2 separate regions of the Homo sapiens genome follow, and region 2 is linked to region 1. Evidence: promoter capture Hi-C in 16 types of primary human blood cells and fetal thymus (Javierre and others, 2016). All regions are on one chromosome and are shown on one strand. Each heading gives the region's core, a stretch centred on a gene start or on the middle of the fragment in contact. The rest is flanking DNA. Distances are from core to core; before and after follow the strand shown.

Evidence for each region. The method cuts DNA at HindIII sites, captures the fragments that hold promoters and counts their contacts. A CHiCAGO score of 5 or more calls a contact.
Region 2: a contact is called between a fragment that was not itself captured here and the fragment with the promoter of LINC01164 in region 1, in 1 of 17 cell types (M2 macrophages). The highest score is 5.9, in M2 macrophages.

What each region holds. Positions count from the first base shown.
Region 1 is chr10:131,785,656-131,792,807 of GRCh38, forward strand. LINC01164 (long intergenic non-protein coding RNA 1164) reads right to left here and starts at 4,544. Exons shown (of 5, transcript NR_038365.1): 1 at 4,422-4,544; 2 at 4,002-4,211. The HindIII fragment of the contact is 4,036 bases long and covers 4,162-7,152 here.
Region 2 is chr10:131,467,103-131,474,254 of GRCh38, forward strand. No RefSeq gene overlaps it. Among named protein-coding and RNA genes, the nearest start is that of TCERG1L, 160 kb to the left of the region's middle. The HindIII fragment of the contact is 1,008 bases long and covers 2,518-3,525 here.

The DNA.
Region 1 (7,152 bases), core at 3,294-5,793:
ACTTTATACCCAAGAGCATATAGAAAATCAATTGTGATAATTCAGAAGCCATCTGGCCTCCACTGGCTACTACTCAAAAGAATACCGAAATAAGCCACTTCAAAACCCTATTTACTATTCATTGACCACCTACTATGCACCAGACGTGCCCCTGGGCCTTTTGTGTCAATTACCTGGTTTAATTCTCACCACCGTCCATGAGGCAGACACCATTGCTATCCCCATTTAACAGAAGGAAAAAATGAGATGCAGAGAAGCAACTTGCCAGACATTACCCAGAGAATAAATGGCAGAACCAGCTCCCAGCCCGGGCGTTACTCCAAAGCCAATCCCCCTAACTCCTACAGGGCTGCTGAGCCAACGTTACACAAAAGCAGCGACTGTAGAAATGAGGAGAAAGGTGAGCATCAGAGTTCATCCGGTTGACCTTGCGGAGCTGCCCTAGGGGACGGAGAGCTGCTGTGCTCCCTGCTTCTGCACACCAGGCAGGAGTCAGGCCACCACGAGCCCCTTCCCCTCTATCACCTGCCGCATTCCCAGCCCACGGCTCTGCTCAGGGTGGACTGGGCTCCTCTGGCCGCCCAGCTCCCCTGCAGGGTGGCTGACAGGCCCTTGCCTACCCTTCACTTCTAACATTGCTATCCCCATTTCCCAAAATTCAGCAAGGTTAGTTCCCTTCTCTTTTCCCCTAATTCTTGCTTTTTAAGATCAATCCTGAGCAAGAGGAGCTTTCTCAAGAAGGAATTATGTGCATCTGTAGCCCCACTGAAGCTTCAACAAACTGATTCCCCCAGATGTGCTCAATGGAAGAAGTCAGGTCCTTTGTTGTGTATCAGATCCACTTGGCCAAGGAGAAGGGTTCTGCGCTGATTCATTCATAAAATCTTCATCAAGCTCTTACTGCATTTATCATCCTGCGCAGGAACTAATGGGTACGTGCATGCACCTGACAAGGAAAAATGGGCCTAAGAAACATCACCGTAAATGTCATGTCTTTAAGACATAAGCGTCAACATTTTAAGGATAACATTGAATTTTTTTCAAAAGAATATTATCTTTTTCAATAGAAAATACACAAATCTGTACCAGTGTGAATGTCCTAGGTCATTGATCACAATGGAACTGGTTCCACTGAGTTATGACCTGCTGTAAGAAGAGGCATGGAGACTTGTTCTGTTCTGAGGATCCCGGCAGTTCTGAGTTTAAGTGCTTGTCGGCTGGGAACTTTGGTTATGCACAGGCAAACCTCTGGAACCTATGTTCCCAGGCCAAGGAGACTAAGGTAACAGTGTTGTCAGTGCACACCGTACAGTCCTTGGAGCTGGGCTCGCCTTTTCCTGTGCCACCTGAAAGCTCTGGCCAACGCAGTGGAAAAAACAAAAACAAAACGAAACAGCAATAACAAAAAAAACCACACTGGGTTTTGACTGAAGTGACATCTATCGCCGGCATTATATAGATTCGAATTTATTGACTTGACTCTTTTTTTTAATTCTAATTTATTCACCATTTCAAAAACCAAGTATGTGATTAAAATCTGCTGCCACCTGGTGGTGGTCACAGTGTCACATGTCATGTTCCAAAAAGTGAAGTCCACGCTACAACTGTGTTTTGGTAAAGGTAGCAATGAACATATTTTTCTCATCTATTTAGGGGAAAATGGTAAAATATGTGAACTTATTCATTGTTAATCCTACATGTGACAAGTATAATCCGAGCACAAGCCTTGAGGCAGCATTTCTTAACTGGTCATAGATGCTTTTGAAACCCTGATAAAATGTGGGAGGATCTCCCTGGGAAAATGAACACACGTGCACATTCACAAAGTTACACATGCAACTTTGAAAGAACACAGTACAGAGTGAAGATGCTTGCTTTAAAGAAAATACCTAGAATTCGATCTCACTGAGATGGTTGCAAATTAAAAGGCTCTAATCACAGTGAAAAGGAACCGGTAGCTATGAGCCACTGTGAGTTTTCTAAGAAGTCAAACCAAGTGCACCCTGATTCCATTTTGTTGTTATGATATGTAAAGGTAAATATATAGGAGATATACGTGTTTTATATATGTGTATATAAAACATAAACATTTATATATTTTTGTACTTATTCATATAAAACATATTTATATATAATTATTGTACAAGATAATTTAATTCCATGCAATAGTTATTTATCACATGGCTGGACTGGTCACTGGGCCGGGTGCTGAATGCTCAGAAAATTAAGACACAATTTCTGCCTTCAAAAGACCCACAGCCTGGCAAGGAAAATGAGCAGACATATATACACATATATAAGAATTATAATCTGATATGACAAGTGTTCGTCCAAAGGCACTACGGGAGCAAGAGGAAGAAGCAATTTCTTCTATCTGATTTGAGGGGTGGCAGGGAGAAAAAGTTGCCATTTCAGCTAAGGAAAGAGATGGGTAACCCCAACCCCAATGTGAAAGACACATATTCAAAGCAGGGAACTGCATGGGGGAAAGCTCAGCAGCATCAAAGTTCACAGGACCAGCACGTGCTCTGGGGTCAGGTCGCCAAAGCCACAGAGTGAAGCTAAACTTCAGCTTGGTGTTTTGCAAAATCTTTTATTCTTTCTCCTTGATTGTCCCCTACAGTGAACCTTCCCACCAGTCCTATTCTATAAAATGTTCCCTTCCCTCACACTCCAGGGATTATCCAGGGTGCAGAACAGGGAGGAGTATGCCCCATCTCGTGTGCAAAACCTCATTATGTAAGGTAATTCTATGGGATACCTTTTATACCCCACATGAAAACCCTCCCAGCCTCACCTCGCACTTCACCCAGTACCTCCCAGGCTCTGATCCACTTTGCATAGGTGTCACCTGACACCACCTGGGCTCGGAGATCTGCTCACCTCTTACTTCCTGCCTTGGCCCCGGGGTCACCTGCAGGAGGCTGCTCAGCAATCACAGTTATGCAAGTCTCCAAAGACAGGGCCTCCACGGCCAGGACAGAAGCAGATAATAAGTTCTCTTTCCTTTACTGTCCCAAGGAGACTGTGCTGAGATGCATTTCATAAAGGGCCTCAGAAGGTCTCAAAAAGCCCAGCATCAGCCACTCCAAGCGGCTGTCGATTGGATAAGCCATCTGGTATTCCCATTCACTCCTTCCCTCCCTCGCTCAACTCACTCCTGCTCGCCTGAGCCCTGAGACCCCTGCCCAAAGAAACAGCCTGAACTCAAGCCTTTGTCCCTAGCTCTGCTGGAGAAGCTCCATCTAAGACCACTGATACCACACCTGAAAGCTCTAGATAGCAGACCTTCAGGATAGAATTTGGGGGCTAGTCCCCTCGCCAATCCAGCACACAGAGGAACCCCATTGCCAGTGGCAATTGGGGAAGTAATAAGCCCCTGGCCTCAGCTGCCTCATCATCACCAAGAAGGGCACTGGAATAGGGCTAGAGAGAGGTGCAGGGAGGTGCGGGGGAGGTACAGGGGAGGCACAGGGGAGACAGGCTTTGCACTGGCATCCATGACACCTTAGAGACTCCCCATCCAGCAGGGTAGGGGTCCCCAACTCCCAGCCATGAACCAGTACCAGTCTGTGGCCTGTTAGGAGCCAGGCCACACAGCAGGTGAGCAGCAGGCTGAGGAGCACTGCTACCCAAGCTCACCCTCCTGTCAGATCAGCAGCGGCATTAGATTCTCATAGGAGCACAATCCCTATTGTGAACCGTGCTTTTGAGGGATCTCGGTTGCCCACTGCTTATGAGAATCTAATACCTGATGATCTGAGATGGAACAGTTTCATCCCCAAACCATCCCCACCCCCAGTCTGTGGAGAAATTGTCTTCCACAAAACGTGTCCCTGGTGCCAAAAAGGTTGAGGACCACTGCGCCAGGGCGTTGGATTCAGAAGGTCTTGCAGAGGGTGCATCAGCAATATGCATTTCTAACTGGCAGCAAAAGTCCTCTTACAAAACGTTCATCTACTGTAGAAAGATTTAGGATGTAGAAACAAAAGAAATGTCACCTGTAACTCTGCCATGGGTCAGTGTGCACCATCTCAGGCTCTTCTGCACGCCCATGTGGGTGGGGTCGGGGTTGGGTGTCTCGGCCAGGTGGAGGCTGGGCCAGGCCCCAAAGCTGTGGGCGGCAGATGCTGCATCCACCTCCTCTGGCTTGGATCTAGAAGCTTCCTCCTCTCTCTTCCTCTTGCCTGAATTGACACAGGAGATGAAGCCTGGGGAAAATGGACCAGAACTCAGACCCCAACCCCCAACCTACAATGACATTCAAGGATGTAAGACGCACATGATAGATTTGTTAGCACAGTGTTATCTGTAAATCAGAGCTGTGTTCACTGTCAGTTAGAACAGGCTGGGTTATACCGAGTAACAAATGTCCTGCAATCACAGAGGCTTCCCTCCACAAAGATCTGCCTGTCACTCACCACGTGCCCAGGGCTTGGCTCAGCCCTTCACAGGTGGATGGGCATTCGCAAACTGGAGCACGGCAGCCTGTCATAGAGACAGGAAATGAGCACATGGTGAACAAGTGCTGGCTCTTAGCTTCTGCCCAGCAGAGCCCCATGACACTTCTGCTCACATTTCATTGGCCAAGGCAAGTCACATGGCCCTACTGCCACATGACACTTGTACTTGAATTTCATTGGCCAAGGCAAGTCCCCTTGCTTTGCCTGCTTCAGAGGAGCAGGGATGTTCAGTGAGCAAATCACCCTGAGAACTTGATGACTGTCCTTGCTCCATTCTTTCTTTTATCACGGTCCTTTGTCCACCGACACATCACCAGCTCTGGACTGGAGCTCCAGTAGAGAGGGCACCAGGCACACTCATCCTTGTATCCCACAGGGACTGCCATCATTGGCAGACAGGCAGTCTACTTCTCTTTTTCCTGCCAAGAGTCGGAGAGAGCAGTGACTTCCACAACACTGGCCCTGCAGACTTTGTAACCTAAGTTCCCAAAAATGGACTAAAAAGTAATGAGTTCTTATCCTGACTATTCACTCAGCAATACTTAGTTATTAAACATCTTCTATGTGCCAGGTACATAATGTGGAGAATAAATAGAAGTAGAAAATAAGAAAATGAAAATATCCTACAGGTTATCTCTTATTCAAAATGGTTGGGACCAGAAAGGTTTTGAGTTTTGGATTTTGGAATATTTACATTACACTTAATGGTTGAGCATTTTGAATCCAAAAGTCTAAAATCTAAAATGCTCCAGTGAGCATTTCCTTTGAGCATCATGTCAGCACTCAGAAAGTTTCAGATTTTGGAGCATTTCAGATTTCAGATTTTTAGATTCAAGATGCTCAACCTGTATAATTTCACCACTCTGGGGGACCTACTTAACATTTTTTATATATTTCCTTTCCGTTTTTTTCTATGGATTTTTTTGGTCATGCCGACTTAAATAATTTTCTCTTTTTTTTCACTTAAAGTTATAACTACAACAGTCTTAAGAACTCTTTGAAAATTTAATTTTAAAGACTGAATCATATTGCCTTTAATGTGGATTACATCAGTGCAGGTTATTTATTGGGCCATCTTATTATCATTAAACACTTTGGGTCATTTCACTTTTTTATTTTTTAAAATGCTATGATTAGTATCATTTTTAAAATTATACCTCAAAAAGTCTTTGTAAGAAGATTATTCATAAGGCGTAAGCATAAGGAAACCTTCTTATGAGATCATTTGTTCCACAACAATTTATCTCAGCCTAATTGCCTTTTATTGGCCATAGAGCTGTTCACTTCCTCAGCAACCCAGGGTTCAAGTCCTGTAAAACACAACACTGGGCAGTTCTAGAAGAGAGAAGCGTTTCTGGAGCTTGGCTCTAAAATCTTCAGATCACAACAATTTTCACAATGAAATAAAATTTAATTTTTGGCTCACATAGTAAAAGATTATATCAGATTTCTCATTCCTCGGAAAATCAGAGAGAACTTAATAACAAATACCATAATTATCTGCAAAGACTGAACGGTGATTAAATTATCAGGAGGCCGTTACTCCTAAAACTATTTCTTTAATTAGCTAAAGCTGGCAGTATATATTAATATTTCCTGAGATATTTGCATACATTCACAACAGGCTAACCAGACATTAGCTGAAATATAATTTTTCTAATATTATGTTAGAAATATTTTAAGATTAAATCATATTATCATGTTTTTTCCTGTGATTATTAGAGCAGACACTCTTGATTTATCACCATAAATTCTCTAATTTAGGAGCTGAAAATGCTTCTCGTTTTCCATGATGAGCTTTTTCAATTCCATTTACACAATAGAAGGTGCTCTTTGAAGCCCAGATCTGCTGGTAGAACGTGGTTTTTGATAATCCACATCTGCACACTGCTCCCAGACAAACACAAGGAAGCCCACCCTAATATGTAGCTGGCAGGACCCCGGCCATTCAGATTCCGTGGCCACAGCAGGAAAAGCGTCTGGGTAGCAGTGGGTGCAGGGACAGGGTGAGGGGAGCTGGTCCTGGCTGGCCACAGCACCAAAGAGCGGAGGACATGTCAGCAAGCAGGATTTGAATGAGGGTCGAACAGGTCTTTCTCAACTCCATCCCAGCCTGCATAGAGGACAGGACACTCAATTGAATTGGGCAACTCACAGAAGGTCCCAAAAGGGGGTCAGTACAGAGGTGTGGGGATGGTCAGGGAGGCCACACCTGGGAATCACAGCAAGGCTCTGTCACCACCACTGGGGACAGGAAACTGGGGAGTCCTGTGGTGAGCCCCAGAGCAGAGGACCGCCCAACAGGAACCAAGCCCTCAGGGGAGGGGCGCAGCCAGCTCCAGGCTGCCCCGGGGGAGGGAGCAGAAAATAAAGGTTCTGACCACTCTCCATTCTCTTTCTCCACACCCCTGCCCAGGTCCCTTTGGCCAAACCCAGCAGAAGCCAGAGGGGAAGGAGACTCACAGATGTAGCCCCGCAGGTCGGCGTCCAGGACCTAAGAGGGGTAGGACACGAGGAGAACCTGGGAGACATGTGGAAGTTGCTGGGCACAAATGACGGGGGACACCCTGAGGGACCCCATTTGGATGTGCTGAAGCCAGCATGCTCACCCTCACAATATGTGTTCACTCTCAGCCTGGAGGACTTTTGACTCTTGCCATGTCTGTGCCTTTAAAAAATAACCAACTGT
Region 2 (7,152 bases), core at 1,772-4,271, 320 kb before region 1:
TCTTGTACATATTTTGTTAGATTTATGCCTAAGTGCTTCCTGTTTGAGAGTGCTAATGTAAATTTTATATATATATATATATATATATATATATATATATATATTTTTTTTTTTTTTTTTTTTTTTTTTTTCGGAGACGACATCTTGCTCTGTCACTTAGAGTTGGAGTGCAATGGCAAGATCTTGGCTCACTGCAATCTCCGCCTCCCAGGTTCGAGCAATTCTCCTGCCTCAGCCTCCCGAGTAGCTGGGATAACAGGCATGCACCACCATGCCCGGCTAACTTTTGTATTTTTAGTAGAGATGGGGTTTCACCAGGTTGGCCAGGCTGGTCTCGAACTCCTGACCTCCTGATCCTCCCACCTCAGCCTCCCAAAGTGCTGGGATTACAGGTGTGAACCACCATGCCCAGCCAATAATACTATTTTTAAATTTCATATTCCACTTGTTATTGCTGATATGTAGGAAAGTGATTGACTTTTGTATATTACCTTGTATCTTGCAACCTTGCTATAATCACTTAGTAGTTTCACAAGTTTTTTTGTCAATGCTTTCAGATTTCTACATAGATGATCATGTCATCTGCAAACAAATACAGTTTTATCTCTTCCCTCCCAATATGTCTACCTTTTTATTCTTGTCTTACTGTATTAACTAAGCCTTTCAGTACAGTGTTTGAAAAGGAGTGGTGAGTAGGGATATTCTTGCCTTGCTCTTGGTCTCAGTGGGAAAGCTTCAAGTTTATCACCATTAAATATGATGTTAACTGTAGGTTTTTCATAGATAATTCTTTATCAAGCTGAGGAAGTCCTTCTCTGTTCCCAGTTTACTGAAAGTTTTTATTACAAAGGAGGACTGTATTTTGCCATATTTTGTTGCATTTTCTGCAGCTATTAATATGATCTCTTTTTTTCCTTTTTAGCCTGTTTCTGTGATGGATTACATTAATTGATTTTTGAATGTTGAACCAGTCTTGCATACCTGGGATAATTTCCAGTTGGTCATGATACATAATTTTTGATATATTATTGAGTTTGTTTTGCTAATATTTTGTGGAGGATTTGGGATTTATGTTCATGAGAGATTTTGATGTAGAGTTTTCCTTTTCTAAAATGTCTGGTTTTGGTATTAGGGTATATTAGTCCATTTTTATACTGCTATGAAGAAATACCTGAGACTGGGTAATTTATAAAGAAAAGGAGTTTTAATGGACTCACAGTTCCACATGGCTGGAGAGGCCTCATAATTATGGCAGAAGGTGAAGGAGGAGCAAAGGCATCTTACATGGCAGCAGGCAAAACAGAATGTGTGCAGGGGAAATGCCCTTTATAAAACCATCAGATCTTGGCCGGGCGCAGTGGCTCGAGCCTGTAATCCCAGCACTTTGGGAGGCCGGGGCGGGCGGATCATGAGGTCAGGAGATCGAGACCATCCTGGCTAACACAGTGAAACCCTGTCTCTACTAAAAATACAAAAATTAGCCGGGCATGGTGGCGGGTGCTTTTAGTCCCAGCTATGTGGAGGCTGAGGCTGGAGAATGGCGTGAACCTGGGAGGCGGAACTTGCAGTGAGCTGAGAGCACGCCTCTGCACTCCAGCCTGGGCGACAGAGCAAGACTATGTCTCAAAAAAAAAAAAAAAGAATAAAAATTAAAAAAAAAAAAAAAAAGAAAACCATCAGCTCTCATGAGACTTATTCACTATCATGAGAATAGCAGGGGAAAAACCCACTCTATGATTCCATCACCTCCCACCGGGTCCCTCCCATGACACGTGAGGATTGTGGGAGCCACAATTCAAGATGAGATTTGGGTGGGGACACAGACAAACCCTATCATAGGGTATTACTGCCTTCTCAGAATGCATTAGAAAGTTTTCCCTCTGCTTCCATTCTCTAAAAGAGATCTTAGATAACTGGTAAAATATCTTCCTTAAATGTTCGGTAAAATTCATTAATAAACCCATTTGGCCCTGGGGCTTTCTGATTTGGAAGGTTATTAATTATTGATTCAATCTCTTTAATAGACATAGTCCTGTTCAGACTGTTTATTTCTTTTTTGTGATTTTTGGCAAATTGTGTTCTCAGGGATTTGGTCCATTTTAAATGGGATTTCAAATTTGTGGGTATAGAGTTGTTCATAGCATTTTTAAAATCATTCTTTTAATTCCCATAGGATCTGTAGTGATATCTCTCTTTCTTTTCTGATATTAGAAGTTTGTGTCCTCTCTCTATTTTGGTTTTGTTGATTTTCTCTGTCCATTTCCTGTTTTCAATTTTATTGATCTCAGCTTTAATTTTTAACCACTTTTTTCTGCTGCTTACTTTGGATTTTACTTGCTCTTCTTTACTTGTTTCTTAAGTTGGACACTTAAATTGTTGATTTTAGATCTTTCTCTTTTTCTAATATATGAATTCAATGCTATGAATTTCCTTCTAAAAACTCCTTTCACTGCATCACAGTTTTGGTATGTTGTGTTTTCATTTTTATTTTGTTTAAACATTTCTAAATTTCTCTTAAGCTTTCTTTTTTTACTCACATGTTAAGATGCCAATTATTTCCAGGTTATTGCTGGTGTTGCTGAGTTCACCTATGTCTTTACTGATTTTTCTGCCCCTTGGAACTGTCCATTTCTGACAGAGGGTGTTGAAGTCCACAACAGTGTGTTCATCTATTTTTCCATGCAGTTCTATTAGCTTTTGCCTCATTGGCTTGACTCCGTTCTTAATCACGTTAAGGATTGTTAGATATACTTGGGGAACTGATACCTTTATCATTATGTAATGCCCTGTTTATTTCTGGTAGCTTTCCTAGCTTATTCTGTCTGCATTAATACATCTTCTACTTTCTTTTCATTGGTTGTAGCATGGCATATATTTCCCCCATCCATTTACTTTTAATCTATACGTTTCTTTTAAGTTAAAGTGGGTTTCTTATAGATAACATGTAGTTGGGTCTTGCTTTTTCATTCACTCTGATAATCTTTGTCTTTCAATGGGTGCATTTGGACCATTGACATTCAAAGTAATGATTGATATAGTTGGATTAATATCTACCATACTTGATATTGTTTTTTATTTGTTGCCTTTATACCTTGCTCCTATTTTTGTCTTCCACTCTTTTCTAACCTTTTAGTTGATTTTGATTGAGATTTTATATAATTCCATTTTCTCTCCTTTCTTATCAGGTCAATCACATTCTTTTTTTTAACCTTTTTTTTAGTAGTTTTTCTAGAGTTTGCAATATAGATTTACAACTAATCTAAGCCCACTTTTGAAAAACACTACACCACTTCACAGGTAACGTGAGTACCTTAAAACAACCAAATAAGCCTAATTACCCCTCAGTCCCTGTGTCATTGCTGTCATTCATTTCATTGATATATCAGCAGACATAAATGTGTGTGTGCAAATATATATAAAACATTAAATACATACATGAACATACATGATCAAATGCATTGTTGCTGTTATTATTTTGAACACATTTACCTATCAATCAGGTCAATTAAGGTTATGAAAAATCAAAGCTTCCATTTTACCTTCACTTCTTCCTTTCTCAGAGCTTTTTTTTTTTTTTTTTTTTTGACGGAATTTTGCTCTTGTTGCCTAGGCTGGAGTGCAGTGGCATGATCTTGGCTCACTGCAACCTCTGCCTCCTGGGTTCAAGCGATTCTCCTGCCTCAGCTTCCCCAGTAGCTAGGACTACAAGCATGCACCACTATGCCCGGCTAATTTTGTATTTTTAGTAGAGACGGGGTTTCAACATGTTGGCCAGGCTGGTCTCGAACTCCTGACCTCAGAGGATCCACCCACCTAGGCTTCCCAAAGTGCTAGGATTACAGGAGTGAGCCACTACACCTGGCCCTCTTTGTTTTTCTAATGCAGATCTGAGATTCTGGCCTTTTTATTCTCCTTCTCTCTAAAGGATCTTTTAAAATATTTTTTGTAAGACGGGTCTACTGTCAACAAATTCCCTCAATTTTTGTTTGTCTGAGAAAGTCTTTATTTCTCCCTCACTTTTGAAGGGTAATTCTGCAGGGTACAGATTTCTGTGCCGGGGTGTTTTTTCCTCTAAATACTTCAAATATTTCACTGCACTCTCTTCTTGCTTACTTGGTTTCTGAGAAGAAGACAGAATTAATTCTCATCTTTTTTCCTCTACAGGTAAAGTGTTGGGTTTTTTTCCTCCCTTTAGCTTTTTTCAGGACTTTTTTTTAATCCTTGCTTTTCTGTGTTTGAAAATAGCATGTCTAGGTGTAGGCTTGGGGTCACAGACCCTGCTTGGTGAGCTACACTTCATGGATAGGTAGTTTGGTGTCTGATATTAATTTGTGGAAGTTCTCAGACGCTATTGTTTCCAGTATTTCTTCTCTTCCTTCTCTCTTTCTTCTCTTGCTGATATTCTCATTAATCTTTGTTACACCTTTCGTGGCTGTCCCACAGCCCTTTGATACTATGGTCTGTTCTTTTCATTCTTTGTTCTTTTTGCTTTTCAGTTTCCAGAGTTTCTATGGGTGTGTCCTCGAGCTCACACGGTCGTTCCTCAGCGGCGTCCAGTCTACTAATAAGCCCTGCTCATTTCTGCCCCTGCATTTTTATCTCTTCTGTTTCTTTTTCCTTCTTTCTTAGGACTTCTATCTCTCTGCTAAAATTGCCCATCTGTTCTTAAGTGCTGCCTGTTTTACCCATCAGAGCCCTTAGCATTTTAATCATACTCATATTCACGGGAACAAAACCAAACTCTGTAAAATATTTTAAGAGGTTGATTCTGAGCCAAGATACAAGTGACCTTGGCCTGGGGTCCTCAGAATGTGTGCCCGAGGCAGTCGAGTAACAGATTGGTTTTATACATTGTAGGGAGCCAAGAAATGTGGGTAAAATCACAAATCAATACATGAAATGTGTACGTTGGTTCAGCCTAAAGAGGCAAAGATTCTTGAAGTTCTTGGTGGGGGAAGGCTTACAGGTCATAGGTGGATTCAAAGATTTTCTAAATGGCAGTTGGTTTAAAAAGTGAAACTTTGTCTAAAGACTTGACGTCAGTAAAAGAAATGCTTGAGTTAAGGTAAGGGGGGCCATGGAGGCCAAGGTTCGTGTTAAGTTGACGAAGCCTCAGTGGTGGCAGCCCTCCGAGAGGATAGAAGGTCAGTGTCTCTTTTTGGATCTTGAAAGGCGACAGACTCTCAGTTAATCTCTCCTAGATCTGGGAAGGCCTGGCTGCATTAATGGAGATTCTTTGGAGATGGCAAAATTTCCCCCACAAATGACAGCTTTGAAGGGCCATTTCAAAATATGTGAAAGAAATACATTACATTTCGGAGTAAAATGCTTTGATTTCTTTCAGGGCCTGCTGTCTGACATGTGATGCTATACCAGAGTCAGTTTGGAAATTGGTATCTGATTGCTACAAGTCTGTTTTGTCAGCCTAGTGCTCTCCACTTTAAAGTTAGTGCTGGTCATGTTCCTAAACTCCAAAAGGGAGCGGGTATAATGAGACATGCATGACCTCCTGACCTCCTGACCTCCCAACCTCCCGACCTCCCTTCCTATCACGGTCAGGAATTCCATTTTTCACGTTTCTCTGAGGTCCCCTTGGCCCTGAGAGGGTCTGTCCAGTTGGTCGGGGGCTTAAGATTTTATTTTTGGTTTACAGTTTTATTTATTTATTTATTATTTTTTGAGATGGCATCTCACTGTGTGGCCCAGGGTGGAGTGCAATGATGCAATTTTGACTCACTGTAACCTCCACCTCCCGGGTCGGAGTGATTCTCCTGACTCCTCCCGAGTAGCTGGGATTACAGGCATGCATCGCCATGCCCAGCTATTTATTTTTAGTTTTAGTTTTGTTTTTTGTATTTTTATTAGAGACGGGGTTTCACCATGTTGGCCAGGCTGGTCTTGAACTCTTGGCCTCAAATGATCCACCCGCCTCAGCCCCCCAAAGTGCTGGGGTTACAGACGTGAGCCACTGCGCTCGGCCACAGTTGTTTTAAATTCACTGTCTGATCATTCTAAAATCTCTGCCATGTCTGGTTTTGTCTCTCCAAATTGTGCTTTTTTGCCTTTTAATATGCCTTATAATTTTTTTGATATGCAGACACAATGCGCCAAATGCAAGAAACTTCCATACGGACCTTGGTGATGTGGCGGTGCGGCGCTGGGTAGGGGAGAGCAGCCTATAGTCCTGCGAGTAGGTCTCCGGCTTCCCGAGAGCCTGTGTCTCACTTCACAAGCACACGCCTCTGTTGTCCCTCCCAGCTTAGATGGGACAGAACAGCCTCAGTGGGCTGAGCTGGGTATTTCCCTTCCCTTGGGGAAGACCGTGACATGTGGAAGGTGACCTTGTGTTTCAGAGGTCGGGAGGCCAGATCAAGGGGTGTCTACTCCAGAAAGATCACCACGAACTTCTGAACAATGAGGTCCCATGACTGAGCCTGTGCCGAGCACAGAGGCAACTGGTGGTGGTCATGCTGCCGATGGACAGATGATGCTGGGGCCTGGGAGCGACTCTGGGGGAGGCCACAGGGCAGGTGCTTGTCTCCAGGGCATGGAGCCAGGAAGTCTTCCCACCGGAGGCCACCAGCAGAGGAGAGCATTTCCTTCCATTCCTGGTGGCTCCAGCTGTCCCCATCCCGAATACAGAATGATTGTCTGTCCCAAAGCACCTCCGGAACCCGGCACAGGTGCCACTGAGCCAGGCGGTGCCCCAGCGCAGCTCTCTCATTCCATGAGGTTCCGCTTCACAGCCCCAGGTAAGCCCAGTGCTGAGAGGCTGCTGCCTCCCACCTGAAAGAAGGAGCAGCCCAGCCCCAGCCGCAGGGGCACAGGGATGGCAGGGATGGCAGGGCTGGAGGGAGGCTCCGCAATGGCAGTGAGAAGTGGCCTCTCTGTCCAGGGACTTCAGCGGGCTCCATATGTTCTCCAGGTCTTGGCACCTAGTGACTCAGGACACCCAGCAGCTGAGGACATGGCCACCGGCCCTCTGGGTGTGCAGAGCTTGTTGGCAGAGCCACACCAAGATGGCCCAGGCAGAGTCCACACTGTGCAGGCCGGGCTTGGGTGTGCAGGGAACTCTGAGGACCCTTCCAGATGCTCCAACCGAAGGACACACACGCCCCTCCCCCAACCCAACCCCCACCCATACCCCTCCCC